2 separate regions of the Homo sapiens genome follow, and region 2 is linked to region 1. Evidence: promoter capture Hi-C in 16 types of primary human blood cells and fetal thymus (Javierre and others, 2016). All regions are on one chromosome and are shown on one strand. The core of a region is centred on a gene start or on the middle of the fragment in contact, and the rest is flanking DNA. Distances in the headings are between cores, read along the strand shown.

Evidence for each region. Contacts are between HindIII fragments. The CHiCAGO score rates a contact against its expected background, and 5 or more counts as called.
Region 2: the fragment with the promoter of CELA2A here is called in contact with the fragment with the promoter of FHAD1-AS1 in region 1 in 13 of 17 cell types (neutrophils, total B cells, monocytes and 10 more); the score reaches 12.6 in neutrophils.

What each region holds. Positions count from the first base shown.
Region 1 is chr1:15,342,384-15,348,529 of GRCh38, reverse strand. It overlaps FHAD1-AS1 (FHAD1 antisense RNA 1), which reads left to right and starts at 4,647. Exons shown (of 2, transcript NR_148919.1): 1 at 4,647-4,754. It overlaps FHAD1 (forkhead associated phosphopeptide binding domain 1), which reads right to left. Exons shown (of 34, transcript NM_001391957.1): 17 at 3,340-3,447; 18 at 3,007-3,114. RefSeq lists an enhancer at 2,538-2,737. The HindIII fragment of the contact is 5,872 bases long and covers 1,211-6,146 here.
Region 2 is chr1:15,452,089-15,459,205 of GRCh38, reverse strand. CELA2A (chymotrypsin like elastase 2A) reads right to left here and starts at 2,474. Exons shown (of 8, transcript NM_033440.3): 1 at 2,413-2,474; 2 at 2,032-2,120. The coding sequence starts at 2,452. The HindIII fragment of the contact is 8,750 bases long and covers 1-5,971 here.

The sequences.
Region 1 (6,146 bases), core at 3,398-5,897:
AAGCAATGTTCTGGTAGGATGTAGGGAAGAAAGTGTGGCCAGTATTTAGTGGCCCTAATCAAGGAGTTTTGTCTGGGAAGTTACTTGCTGGTAAGCTATTCAACTAAACAGCTTAATGCAAATCACCAAAGGAAATACACTGCCAGCCTGTTTCCAGTCACCATGAGAAGGGCCACCTCTATTTTCTAACGGCTTGTCTTTCAAACACGAGGTTCACTGTCAGGCATTTAGAACTTGGAACATGGTTTCCATTATAACCACTGGTTAGGGCCCCAGATGAGCCTGTAAAAAGTGTTTAATCCAGAATATGGCTGAGATATTGTATACTTTGCAGTGAAAAGTAGTTGACAAAACTCTAACACTCTGCTGTCCCAACACCAGCCTTAAAGCAGAAGAAAAGTGACATCATAAGAATTTCACGTTTATTTGGATCCTTTGAAGTGGGTTTCAGGGTAGGACATTTTCCTGTGAATTGTAAAAGAGACTTTGAGGCACTTCCTAGGGACTTAGGGTTGGCTCTGCTGTGTCTGACTCTGCGTCTACACTCGCCAGGCCTTCCTCTGGGTGGCTTCTCTGCAGTCGGGACAGGTACTATTGGTAAGAGAGGCCTTGCCTGGCTCACACACAGGCCCTACATGCTCAGTTGCTGTGCTTCCAAGTTCACAACAGATAATGGGGATTAACTTTGAACATGACCTCAAGACCCAGATTATGACCTAGTGATTCTGTTGACCTTAAAAACCCTGATGATGTGGCGGAAGATCTAATGAAAAGAAAATCAGGCCGGGAGCGGTGGCTCACGCCTGTAATCCCAGCACTTTGGGAGGCCAAGGCAGGCAGATCACTTGAGGCCAGGAGTTCAAGAGCAGCCTGGCCAACGTGGTGAAACCCCGTCTGTACTAGAAATACAAAAAATTAGCCAGGCATGGTGGTGCACCTGTAGTCCCAGCTACTTGGGAGGCTGAGGCATGAGAATCGTTTGAACCCGGGAGGCAGAGGTTGCAGTGAACCAAGATCATGCCGCTGCACTCCAGCCTGGGAGACAGAAAAAAAGAAAATCAAATAGCCACTGGCAGTTGAATGGAGCCTGTGGCTGGGGCTGCTCTTTCAAATTCCCCCGATAGGAAGCCACAGAGAAGTTCTGTCAGAAGTAGGCTGACATTTTAACAGACGCGGGGTGACCCAACCACAGATCCTCTGCAATGAAGCTTGAATTTATCTCCTGAGCCCCGTGGCCTCAAAGTCTCTAAATTCAAGAATCTTCCCCAGGCTTTTGCTGTTGACATCTTGGGGCATTTGACTCAAGTAACTCTTTGGAGACCCTCCTCCTCATCCCCACCCCTGGAGAAATCACTTGGGGGCAAACCTCAGTGACGCTCTGTGAGAGGGCTGCAGGGCACACCTGTGCCAGAGACGCCAAGGGAGAACCGACATGTAAACGTCTCTCTGTCCTGGGTCAGATCAAATGGCACAGGCTTTGCCCAGAGGTCTTTTTGTTTCTCCTGCAGCAGTGGGTGGGCAAGGATTTTACTCAAGGAGTCAGTGTTGAAGAAAAACAAATGCCCAAACAGAAGAAGAGGCACAAGTGGCAGCAGAGACAGTAGTAACAGCTGCCGTTTACTCGGCAATCATTCCGCAGGCCAGGCCCTCCATTATACACTAGATCTGAGCCCACAGCCGCCCCTTCGAGAAGGGAGGCAGCGGTAGGTCTGCTGCAGCCAGGAAGTAGCCCAGCTCGGATTTGAACTTGTGTCTCATCTGGCTGCAAAGCCCGCACTCCTCTGTGCTGTGTCAGGATTGAGGAATTCATGAAAGCAGATGTGAAAAAGGATCAGGGATCTGAGGGTGACCACAAGCTAAACATGAATCCACAAATGTGACAGAGCTTTCCCAAAAGCTAGTTTGGATGCATTAACAGAAGTAGAATATCTTCAATGCGGGAGGGAGGAGTCCTCCCCTAGGCTACCGTGGCTGGAGAACAGTGGTTCTGGCCACCTCCCTTTAGGAAGAAAATGGGTGATGGGTGACAAACTCAATGCCTATGAAGCCCGGACAGATACCAAAAATGACGTGGGCTGTGTTTAATGCAACGGGGAGTGGTGAGGACTCTGGCAAACTGCTGCTACCCGGTAAGGCTTCTAGTCCATTTTTGCTAAGTAGAAACAAGGGCTAGATTTTCTGACTTTTCGGGAGAGGCTGGAAATCTGAACTTTTAAATAGATTTTATGAATTCAAAGTAAAATATTCCGGGGCCAAATATAACTTCCACAGGCCCTTTTTAGTCGCTGAGCTACCAGTCTGTGACTTCTGGAGAGCAGCACAGGCCACAGGAGGCAGCCAGGGCCAGGCTCTAGTCCTGTGAGGGACCTGAGGAACAAGGGCGCTTGGGCCCGGGGAGGAGCAGACACAGGGTGCGGGCGCCCCTGTTTTCACACATCTGAGTCATCATGTGGAAGAGGAAGTAGATGTATCTTGTGGGAGCGCAGGGGAGGGCGGAGGACTGATACTCCTCCGGGGCGTAAGAGTTTGACACAACTCAACCTAAAGGGAAAACTTTCTGTCGGCCTGAGGCATCCATGCTGGGACGGACTGTCCTGGGGTGGAGAACATTCCTTAGTGGTGGTGCTGAAGGCTGGAGGCTTTTAGGATGCTGGTGGAGGGTCCACGCAGCCCTGAGGTCCCATGACTCTGTCATTCTCCCGTTTCTGTGCTTTGGAACACAGAAGACGCCCATGTCACCATTCCTACTTGTCTCCCAAGCGCTCTCTCTCTCTGACTGTGTTTTACACTGTTTACAATTTTTTCCCAACTGGTTGTCAAGGCTACAACTCCAGGGTTCCCTCCTTGAGTCTCCCACGCTTCCCAAAGTAGCTGAGCCCACCCAAACGCAAACTCCACGAGGAAGGCTCCACCACGATCTCACCCCCATCATCGCCGCTCTGAACTTCCTTCCACATGGCCCTCAAGCCGACTGGGGCTCAGCCGACTCTATCTCCCCGAGCGTACCTCCTTCTGGCGGGCCAAGCGTTCCTCCAGCTCTTGGACTCTTGTCTGCTCTTCCTCTAATGCTTCCTTCACTCTGTTCTTCTCCTGGGTAATGCTTTTCGCCAAAGCCTGAGTCAACGATCATTGTTCAATAGACATGGTTACCATGGGAGGAAACTGGACTCTGCCAGGCACCGCACAGGTTTCCTCTTCCCTCCAGACTACACCTCCCTAGGGGACTGTGGACAGCACAGCCCTGGAGCTCAGAGCCGGCGGGCCCAGACCAGAGCCCCAGATCCACCCTTCCTAGCTGCAGTGGGGCTCGAGCTGACTCTGTCTCCCTGAGCCACATACCTTCTTCTGCTGGGCCAGGAGGCTCTCCAGTTCTTGCATTCTCTTCCGTTCTTCCTCTAAAGTCTCTTTCGCTCTGTTTCTCTCTTGAGTAATGTACTCCTCCAAAGCCTGGAAACCAATGACCATTGTTTAACAGACATGGTTACCATGGCAGGAATTTGGACGCTGCCAGGCACTGCATGTGCTACCTCTTCACTCCTCACCGCACTCCCCTGGGGAGGCTGTGGGCAGCAGAGCCTAGGAGCTCAGAGCATGTGCTCTGGAGTCAGGAGACCCAGGGTAGAGCCCCAGGTTGATCCTTTCCAGCTGTAAGGCACTGGGGAAGTGAAGCTACCAGAGCCTCAGTTTCCCTGCCTGTACAACGGAGACAGTAATAGTCTTCCTGTGTTGGGTTGATGTGAGGGGTGGATGCGACGATGAACACGAAATGCTTGGCACAGTGATAACCATGCTTCCCACCTTGCAGAGGAGGAAACAGGCTTACATTCAAGAATCCACCCAGTTTACTAGTAAATCACAAGAGGAGGGATTCTAACTCTGACCCATTTGATTCTGAAGCCTGTGTTCTAAACCAGAGGTTAGCAAACTATGGCTTACAGACCAAATCTGGTCTGTTTTTGTAAATAAAGTTTTATTGGAACACTGTGCTTGCTGTGTATTGTCTATGGCTGCTTTTGCAGAAGAGCAGAGAGCATATGACCTGCAAAACTGAAAATATTTACTATCTGGCTCTTTATGGGACAATTTGGCCAATCCCTGATCTAACCCATTGGTGTGTGCACAAACCAAGGGATTGTTGTCAACAACTGGCAATAAGAAAAGAATGTTAGATTGATAAAGGAACATAGAATTTTTTTTCCCTTTGAAACAAAGTCCTCAAACAAGTCAAGATTCATGAGATTAATGACCCTGGACACATGTATTTTCGGAAAGGGCAGGTGATGGGAGTCAGAAGGTCTAAGGAAGGCTCATTTAGTCAGGACACTTGGCACTGAAGTCCAAGAGGTAACTTTCCAAGGAGTCCCCAGGGTCAAGTCCATCAATCCGAGTATCAGAGGAAGGGCGACCTTCGAGTGTCACAGTCTGTCTGGCAGGGACCTGATGTTGCTTCCTCCCTCTGCAAGGAGGGTAGGGTGCACCGAGGTTTTCAGGTTTAAAAGAGGGGCTGACGCCAGCTCTTAAAACACTCTGCCAGGCCAGTGTCGCCAGGGTTGTCTAGGAAGACTAGGCAGGCGCCCAACGCAGTGTTTAACATGGTGGGGCTGAAATACCAAACCCTGACAAGGGAAAAAGTCCATCCAAAATTAAAAAGAGAAAATAAGGCATTTGGGATGCCGATGTTAAAAGGAGAAGGTAATCAGAGAAGAAAAAAGGAAGTCGGTGGAGAGTTCTGCGAAGATTTTGAAGATTTCTAGGTACTTTCTGGTTTTATTTTCTTCTCTATGGAACGGTGCTGGCTTTTTCCGTATCTAAATGCCCTTCAAAATGTGCCCATCTTGATTTATAGCTATCATTAATATTACCTTTATGCGGATTGCACATGATTTGGTCAGATGGCTCTTCTTTTTTAATCTTTTATTTCGCAAATGCAGAAAAGCAGAGAAAGAGGCAAAGAGAAGAAGGAGGAGGAGACTGATGTTTTGGGGTAACTGGACACACATGTGAGGATGGAGATGAAAGAGGGAGAGGTCTGGAGGGCAGGTGTGTGTGGTAGAGAAGGAGCTGGGGAAAGATGGAGAAGGGGGCAGGTCCAGTACTCTTCCGGGGAAGAGAGGAGATATCTGGGAAGAGTTGGGGTCCGGTGGATCTGGGGGGCTGCTGTCTTGAGGGGGCTGTGAGGAGGGGCAGCATGCACACGCTGCTCCACACCCACCCACAACAGTGGCTCGCAACCGTGGCTGCACTTTGCGACCACCCGGGAGTGCTTAGAAATCCCACAGCAGGGGCCACACCCTCACCCCACTAAGATCAGAATGTGGAGAGTCGGCGGGGAGAGGTGCAAGGCATTAGTAATTTTTAATCTCCTAAATGACAAAAGTCATAAAGACAGTGAAATTCATGGGAGGGGTCCCTGAATATCAAAAAGGGCCAACCCTCAGGTATGGTGGCTCATACCTGTAATCCCAGAACTTTTGGAGGCTGAGGTGGGAGGATCACTTGATGCCAGGAGTCTGAGACCAGCCTGGGCAACATAGAGAGAGACCTCATTTCTACAAAAAATAAAAATATTAGCTGGGTGTGGTGGTGTGTGCCTGTGGTCCCAGCTACTTGAGAGACTGAGGTGGGAGGGTCACTTGAGCCCAGGAGTTCAAGACCAGCCTGGGCAACATTGCAAGATCCCATCTCTACAAAAAAAAATAATAATTAGCTGGGTGTAGTGCCATATGCCTGTGGTCCCAGCTACTTGGGAGGCTGAGGTGGGAGGACCACTGCAGCCTGGGAGTTCGAGGCTGTGGTGAGCTATGGTCACACTATTGCACTCCAGCCTGGGCAACAGAGCAAGACCCCATCTTAAGAAAAAAAAGGGCCAACTCTAGGACAGTGATGAGAATCAGCTCATTAAATAATACAGTTTCCTGGCCCTCTCCAGATGTTCTGATTTAATGGGTCTGGAGGGTGGAGACCAAGATCTGCATTTTTAGCAAAGCATCTGGATGGTTCTTATCAGGAAACTTTGGGAAAACCTTCCTCTAAGCCTTCGCCCTAAGAAAATGTGGATCTGCAGACTGGTAGCGTCAGTACCATCTGGGAGCTTGTTGAAAATGTAGCGTCTCAGGCCTGCTGAGACAGAATCTGCATCTTAACCA
Region 2 (7,117 bases), core at 1,225-3,724, 110 kb before region 1:
CCTGGGTGACAGAATGTGACACTGTCTCAAAAAAAAAAAAAAATTACTATGGGTGAGCACAGTGGTGGGTGCCTGTAATCCCAGCACTTTGGGAGGCTGAGGCAGGTAGATGGCCAGAGCCCAGGAGTTGGAGGCTGCAGTGAGCTATGATTGTGCCACTGCACTCCAGCCTGGGTGACAGAGCAAGACTCTGTCTCAAAAAAAGAAAAAAATGTGAAATATCTGCCATCATTCTATCGTTGACAGTCTTTTTTTTTTTTTTTTTTTTTTTTTTTTTTTTTTTTTTTTTTTTTTTTTATGGATCTCACTCTGTCACCCAGGCTGGAGTGCAGAGGTGTGATCTTGGCTCACCGCAACCTGCGCCTCCCAGGTTCAAGCGATTCTTGTGCCTCAGCCTCCCAAGTAGCTGGGACTACAGGTGCCCGCCACCATGCCTGGCTAATTTTTGTATTTTTAGTAGAGGCAGAGTTTCACCATGTTGGCCAGGCTGGTCTCAAACTCCTGACCTCAGGTGATCCACCTGCCTCGGCCTGCCAAAGTGCTGGGATTACAGGCATGAGCCACCACGCCTGGCCTATCATTGACAGTCTCTTAATCAAGGAGCAGATGAATGAACGCTGGCCTCTCTAAACACAGTGACTGCTGCATGGGTCACTCTGAATGCTCAAGGCTAGTGGGCTGCTAGTTGCTCCTCCTACTTAAGGTAGAAACTCATCCTGATTCAGCTGGGTTTGCTCCCAAAGCAGTTTATATCAATTATGCTTGTAATAATGAAATTTGATTAAACATGTAACCAATGAAATATGAGTTCAGAAAGAGAGTCGTTATTTATATGGAAACAAAGTTAAATGCTTGGAAGAGACTGGATCACCATGACTCTTAAAAAATTGCTCTTGAAGTAGTGTCTGTGAGAAAATGGAAAGATTGGATGGGCTCATAACTCAGATTGCTTTGTGAACGTCTCAAAGTTACTGCTCTGCTTTAAAGAAACGGGTTTGTAGATAAGATATGGGGCATGGCTTATATGAAAAAGACAGTTAAGAACTCAAAAAATTGTTTACATAGTCTAAGATAAAATCTTTACTATATATATATGATTTAAAATAATTTCTTTATAACCAACTTTTCAATTACTCGGTCCCAATTACATCAGATAAATGAGATTTCACTATATTTGTTTATGTCAATGTAAACTTTACACATTTCTCTTAAAATCCCCACCATTAACACGTCTGAGTAATTTACACCTGTGCCCCACTTGGCAGTTTAGTCTTGATACCACTATGATTATATCAACTTAAGAAAACATTTTTTTCATTGGTAACATTGATTTGCCTGTGGTTAAAGATTAATCTGCGCAAATAGCACTGATTGGTTCCTTAAAGCAAGGAATGTTTGCATAGGTAGTCTTGAATGGTTCCTAGACTGATGGTACATTTGTAAACAAGCCTCTGATTGGTTAATAGAGTAATACTATATTTGCTGCCTATGGGCAGTGGGGAGGGGACAGCTCCTTACTGCAGCTGGAGGAGGCACCTCTCCCTCCACTCCCAAGGTTGGCCAAGGCCACAGAAATGTATCTTTTTTTTTTTTTTTGAGACAGAGTCTTGCTTTGTTGCCCAGGCTGGAGTACAGTGGTGCAATTTCAGCTCACTGCAACCTCTGCCTCCTGGGTTCAAGCGATCCTCCTGCCTAAGCCTCCCCAGTTGCTGGGATTACAGGCGTGTGCCACCACACCTGGCTACTTGTGTATTATTAGTAGAGGCAGGTTTCACCATGTTGGCCAGGCTGGTCTCAAACTCCTGACTTCAGGTGATCTGCCCACCACAGCCTCCCACAGTGCTGGGATAACAGGCATGAGCCACTGCGCCCAGCCGGAAATATATCTTATTGCTAAAGTTGCCTGTGCTGCTCTCTGAGTCCCATCAATACTCACTTTGCCAGCACAATAGACGCCATGGTGGAAGGGCAAAGGGGAGATGTAAAGGGAGTGGGGCAGGGACGGGGAGAAGTACAGTGTGGTCAACTCACCTGCCAGGGCCAGCTGTTGGGCCTCGCTTCTTCACCGCCAACCACCCTAGTCACATAAGGTGGGTAAGTGGGGTCCCCACAACTGAGGGCTGTGAAAAGAGAAAGGGTCTTGAGTCAGGAAGCAGCGACCCACACAATGTAAACTACACTTGCTGCGCATTCTGACCCCCCAAATAGAAAACCCTTGTTCTAGAAGGATCCCAAGAGGTCATAGAATCCTGCTCTTTGCTCCAATTCTTTGAAACTCCATTCCAATGTTCTTATGATTATAGGTCTGAATGCAGTAGGGGTTGGGTGGGGGCGAGAGGGGAGGACAGGAAGATCCCATTTCCAGCCCCACCAGGGCATGGGAAACCAGTGCCTCTGGGTAACAGGACTTACCTCCAGCCACCAAAGTGGACAGCAGCAGCGTCCTTATCATGGTGTGTCCGTGGGAGTTCTGTAAGCGTGGCCCTGGATAAGGCCCTGGTTTTATGAGCGGACTTATCAGTGAGAGATACAGTAAGAGCACGCAAGATGGGGTTTTCTCAAAGCCCAGTGGAAAAAAGAGCTGTGTCCAAATATTTTTTTTTTCCCATTTCCTCCCAAATGTCACCCTAGAAATACTTTGAAAAAGATGCCAAAGGTAGATATTGGAATATGGGTTCCATCTGTTTTGAAGAGATTATGTTGTGTGTTAGGGAAGGAAGAAAAATACTAATTGTTGGTGCTCGGAGTTGTTTTTTTTTTTGTTTGTTTGTTTTTGTTCCCCTCCCTGGGTAAGACTGAGGAGAGGAGTTGTGTTTTCTTTCTTTCTTTCTTTCTTTTTTCTTTCTGAGATGGAGTCTTGCTCTGTCACCCAGGCTGGAATGAAGTGGCGTGATCTCAGCTCACTGCAACCTCTGCCTCCTGGGTTCAAGCAATTCCCCTGCTTCAGCCTCCCTAGTAGTTGGGATTACAGGTGTGTGCCACCATTGCTGGCTAATTTTTGTATTTTTAGTAGAGACGGGGGGTCTCATCATGTTGGCCAGGCTGGTGTCGAACTCCTGGCCTCAAGTGATCTGCTCGCCTCGGCCTCCCAAAGTGCTAGGATTACAGGCTGAGCCACCATGCCCGGCCAGGAGTTGTGTTTTCAATGAAAAGATTAAGGTGGCATGCTGAGCCCACAGCATTCTAAGGCAGTATTTCTCAATGGGGCTGGTTCAGCCCACCAGGAGACGTTTGACAACATCTGGAGAGAATTTTGGTTGTCATGGCTGGGGTTGATGTAAATTGGCATCCAGTGGGCAGGGAGCAGAGAGCAGAGACGCTGCTAAACACCCGACAATGCACTGGGCAATAGGACTCGCCCTGCCCCAAATGTCAATGGTGCTGAGACTGAGAAAGCCTGTTCTAGGCCATACCAGGGGTTGCAATGTGACCTTGGCTGAGTCATGTAAGTCTCTAGACCCATCTGTGAAACAGGGAGAGAAACCCATGCCCAGTATTGTTTCACAACATTGTGGTAAGGATTTGTATAATGTGGGGAAGGTGCACATGTAGCAGAATTTGCATAATGCGGGGAAGGTGCACATGTAGCAGAAGGCAAGGCCGACATGCACAATTAGGATCTGGCCACTCTAATGATGGGGGGAAGCAGAACGCTGGCAGAGGAGGGCTTCATCTGGTGGATGAAAATGCACTTTACGGCCGGGCACGGTGGCTCACTCCTATAATCCCAGAACTTTGGGAGGCTGATGCGGGCAGACCACCTGAGGCCAGGAGTTCAAGACCAGCCTGGCCAACATGGTGAAACCCCGTCTCTACTAAAAATACAAAAATTAGTAGCGTGTGGGGCTGCATGCCTGTAGTCCCAGCTACTCAGGAGGCTGAGGCAGGATAACCTCTCGAACCTTGGAGGTGGAGGTTGCAGTGAGCTGAGATCGCACCACTGCACTTTAGTTTGGGCAACAGAGCAAGACTCCATCTCAAAAAAAAAAAAAAAAAAGACCAGCTCCACACTCTTAAGACTTGATATCAAGTGTTTTTTTTTTTTTTTTTTTTTTTTTTTTTTTTTTTTTTTTGAGACGGAGTCTCGCTCTGTCACTCAGGCTAGGGCGTAGTGGCGCGATCTCGGCTCACTGCTACCTCTGCTTCTCAAGTTCAAGTGATTCTTCTGCCTCAGCCTCCCTAGTAGCTGGGACTACAGGCACCGGCCACCACACCCGACTTATTTTTGTATTTTTAGTAGAGACGGGGTTTCACCATATTGGCCAGGCTGGTCTTGAACTCCTCACCTCGTGTTCGTCCGCCTCGGCCTCCCAAAGTGCTGGGATTACAGGCATGAACCACCGCGCCCAGCCGAGTTCAAGTCTTTGATCCATCAATTTTGAGTGTGGTGGTCTGGACAAGCCACTTATCTTCTGGGCCTTACTTTCCTAGATAACCATCCAGGCCTGGATTGCAGGATTGTTGTACGGGTAAGAAAATGGGTGGGAAAGAATTCTGCAATCTCCCTAGGATGGTGCAAAGGTGAGAAAGATTGGGTGGGGGGCAGCATCCCATGGGACTGGATGTCAGAAGATGTAGATTCCAGTCCCAACTCCATCCCATAATCCCTGTAACAGTTTGGACTCATTTGTGGTCTGTATGAGTCACTACAGCAACCAACTATTTCTTAAGTCTCATATTTTATCTTAAAGGTTCATGTGAATTTGGCGTTCTGCTCTGTATCTTTGTTTGTTTTAATATAAAAATAAAGTTTGTCCTGTATGAGGCCACTGAACAAACACCTGCTGTGAATTTGCTGTGTGACCTTGGGCCAATCCCACAGGCTTTCTGGCCCGGGGTGCCTATCTACAAACAGGGAGAGGAACAGATGCTTGGTCTGTTCCATCACATTGCTGTCAGGATTTTTTGTTTTGCTTTGTTTTTTGTTTGTTTTTTTGAGACAGAGTCTCGCTCTGCCACCCAAGCTGGAATGCAGTGGCGCCATCTCGGCTCACAGCAACCTCCATCAGGAGGTTCAAGCGATTCTCCTGCCTTTGCCTCCTGAGTTCCTGGGATTACAGGTGCCCGCCACCATGCCCGGCTAATTTTTTGTAATTTTAGTAGAGACGGGGTTTCATCATGTTGGCTAGGCTGGTCTCGAACTCCTGACCCCAGGTGATCTGAGATTACATGCGTAAGCCCCCGTGCCTGGCCAGATGCGAAATTCTCACGGGGTTTGTGACTCATTCAGAACAACTACTCTGAGGAGCCACGTGGCTTAGGGGCTGGGGGCCTGGGCTTAAGACCCCCAGTGCCTCTGTGTAGTGAGTCTGTGGTTTGGCTCCTCTCTACGGAGTGTGGCCTGGGCCAGCAGCATCAGCACAGCTCAGTCGCTGGTTAGAAATGCAGAATTTCCCATCTTCGGTGTCTGTGGTTTAATAGGATCCCCAGATGATTTTGTTCCTCTGCATATTAACATTTGAGAGGCACTGGGCTAGGGTACATTTCACTCTATTCCTTGAGTTTCTCACCTATCAAAGAGAAGCAATAACAATACCATTTATGTCTTAGGATTGTTAGAATCAAACAACAGTTTATTCACTGAAAGCACTCAGAATAGTAACTGTGCAATAAACATTTACTCTTAATTCCTTAGACCTGCGGGCCTCCGATATTAGAGCAGCACAGAATTCTTGAAACCTTTTCATCAAAGAATCCAAGTAGTTTAGCGGCTGGCAAACTTTCTGTGTAAAGGGCCAGATACTAAATATTTCAGACTTGCAGACCATATGGTCTCTGTCACAACTAGTCAACTCGGCCGTTGCAGTGCAAAAGCAGCCATATGGGCATAGCCATGTTCCAATAAAACTTTATTTACAAAACAGATTTGGTTTGCAGGCTCTAGTTTGCAGTAAAGTGATGATCTGGGGTCTAGCACGCAGCACTAACAATAGCAAAATGTCTTGGAAGTCTCATTCTTCATCTGAAAGCTTAATTTGAATTTTGCAACTTCATAATATAGCTGGGTTCATTTCAATATAAAGTTTTTTCTTCCCTTCTGATCTTCACAGAAAATGGATGCTATGGGAAGATGCTGCCTGTTTATTCTCTGCCTTCACGTGGTCCCCTGGCCCACTGCCATGAGGACCTTTGTAGACTCAACCTGTGTCTCAACTTGATAGGACTCAGTTTCTGGGAAGTGGACCCCCAAGGATATGCCGGAGGCCTGAGGTCTGAGGCCTGCTAGGAATGAGCCTTCCTCTCTTAAGGAACAAAAAGAGAGAGGGAAGCCCGGGTGCAGTGGCTCACGCCTTTAATCCCAGCACTTTGGGAGACTAAGGTGGGTGGATGACCTGAGGTCAGAAGTTCGAGACCAGCCTGGCCAACATGATGAAACCCCGTCTCTACTAAAAAAATAAAAAATTAGCTGGGTGTGGTAGTGGGTGTCTGTAATCCCAGCTACTCGGGAGGCTGAGGCAGGAGAATCGCTTGAACCAGGGAGGTGGAGGTTGCAGTGAGCCGAGATCGTGCCACTGCACTCCAGCCTGGGCAACAAGAGCGAAACTCCATCTCAAAAAAAGACAGAGGGAATATTTGAGTCCAGGGAGCGAAGTCAGTAGTAGTAATGGCCCTCTCTGCCCCATTCACTAGCCTCTGTCATTTCATTGGCTCCCCAGTAAGGAGACAGGGCAGGTGTCCATTTCACAGATGGGGAAAACTGAGGCCCAGGGAGGTTAAGTGACTCAGCCACTGACTGCCTGTCAGTGGTGAGTTCAGAGCTCCAGCCCAGTGAGTGCCCTCCCTCTGCCCTGCCCTAGTTTATGCTTCTCATTTGAGTCAGAGAGAATGTGGATGTGGTGGCTGACCAAGATGGCCCTGATTCTTCATCCTCCCTGCATCCATGCCCTTTGCCATGCAGGGCCCTCCCGGGAGGTGGGTGAGACATGCAGAGCCAGGCTGCCCAGTCTGACCCACACTGGATCAGCCAACCCTGGCTGACCCCTAAACATATGAGTGAGTCCAGCCCAAATTAGCAGGGCTGCCTGACAGCCCCAACTGTCCCCAGATGTGTCAGCAATAAGTGCTCACCACTGCATGCCACTAGGAGTTTGGGGTAGGTTGTTAGGCAGCATTATCA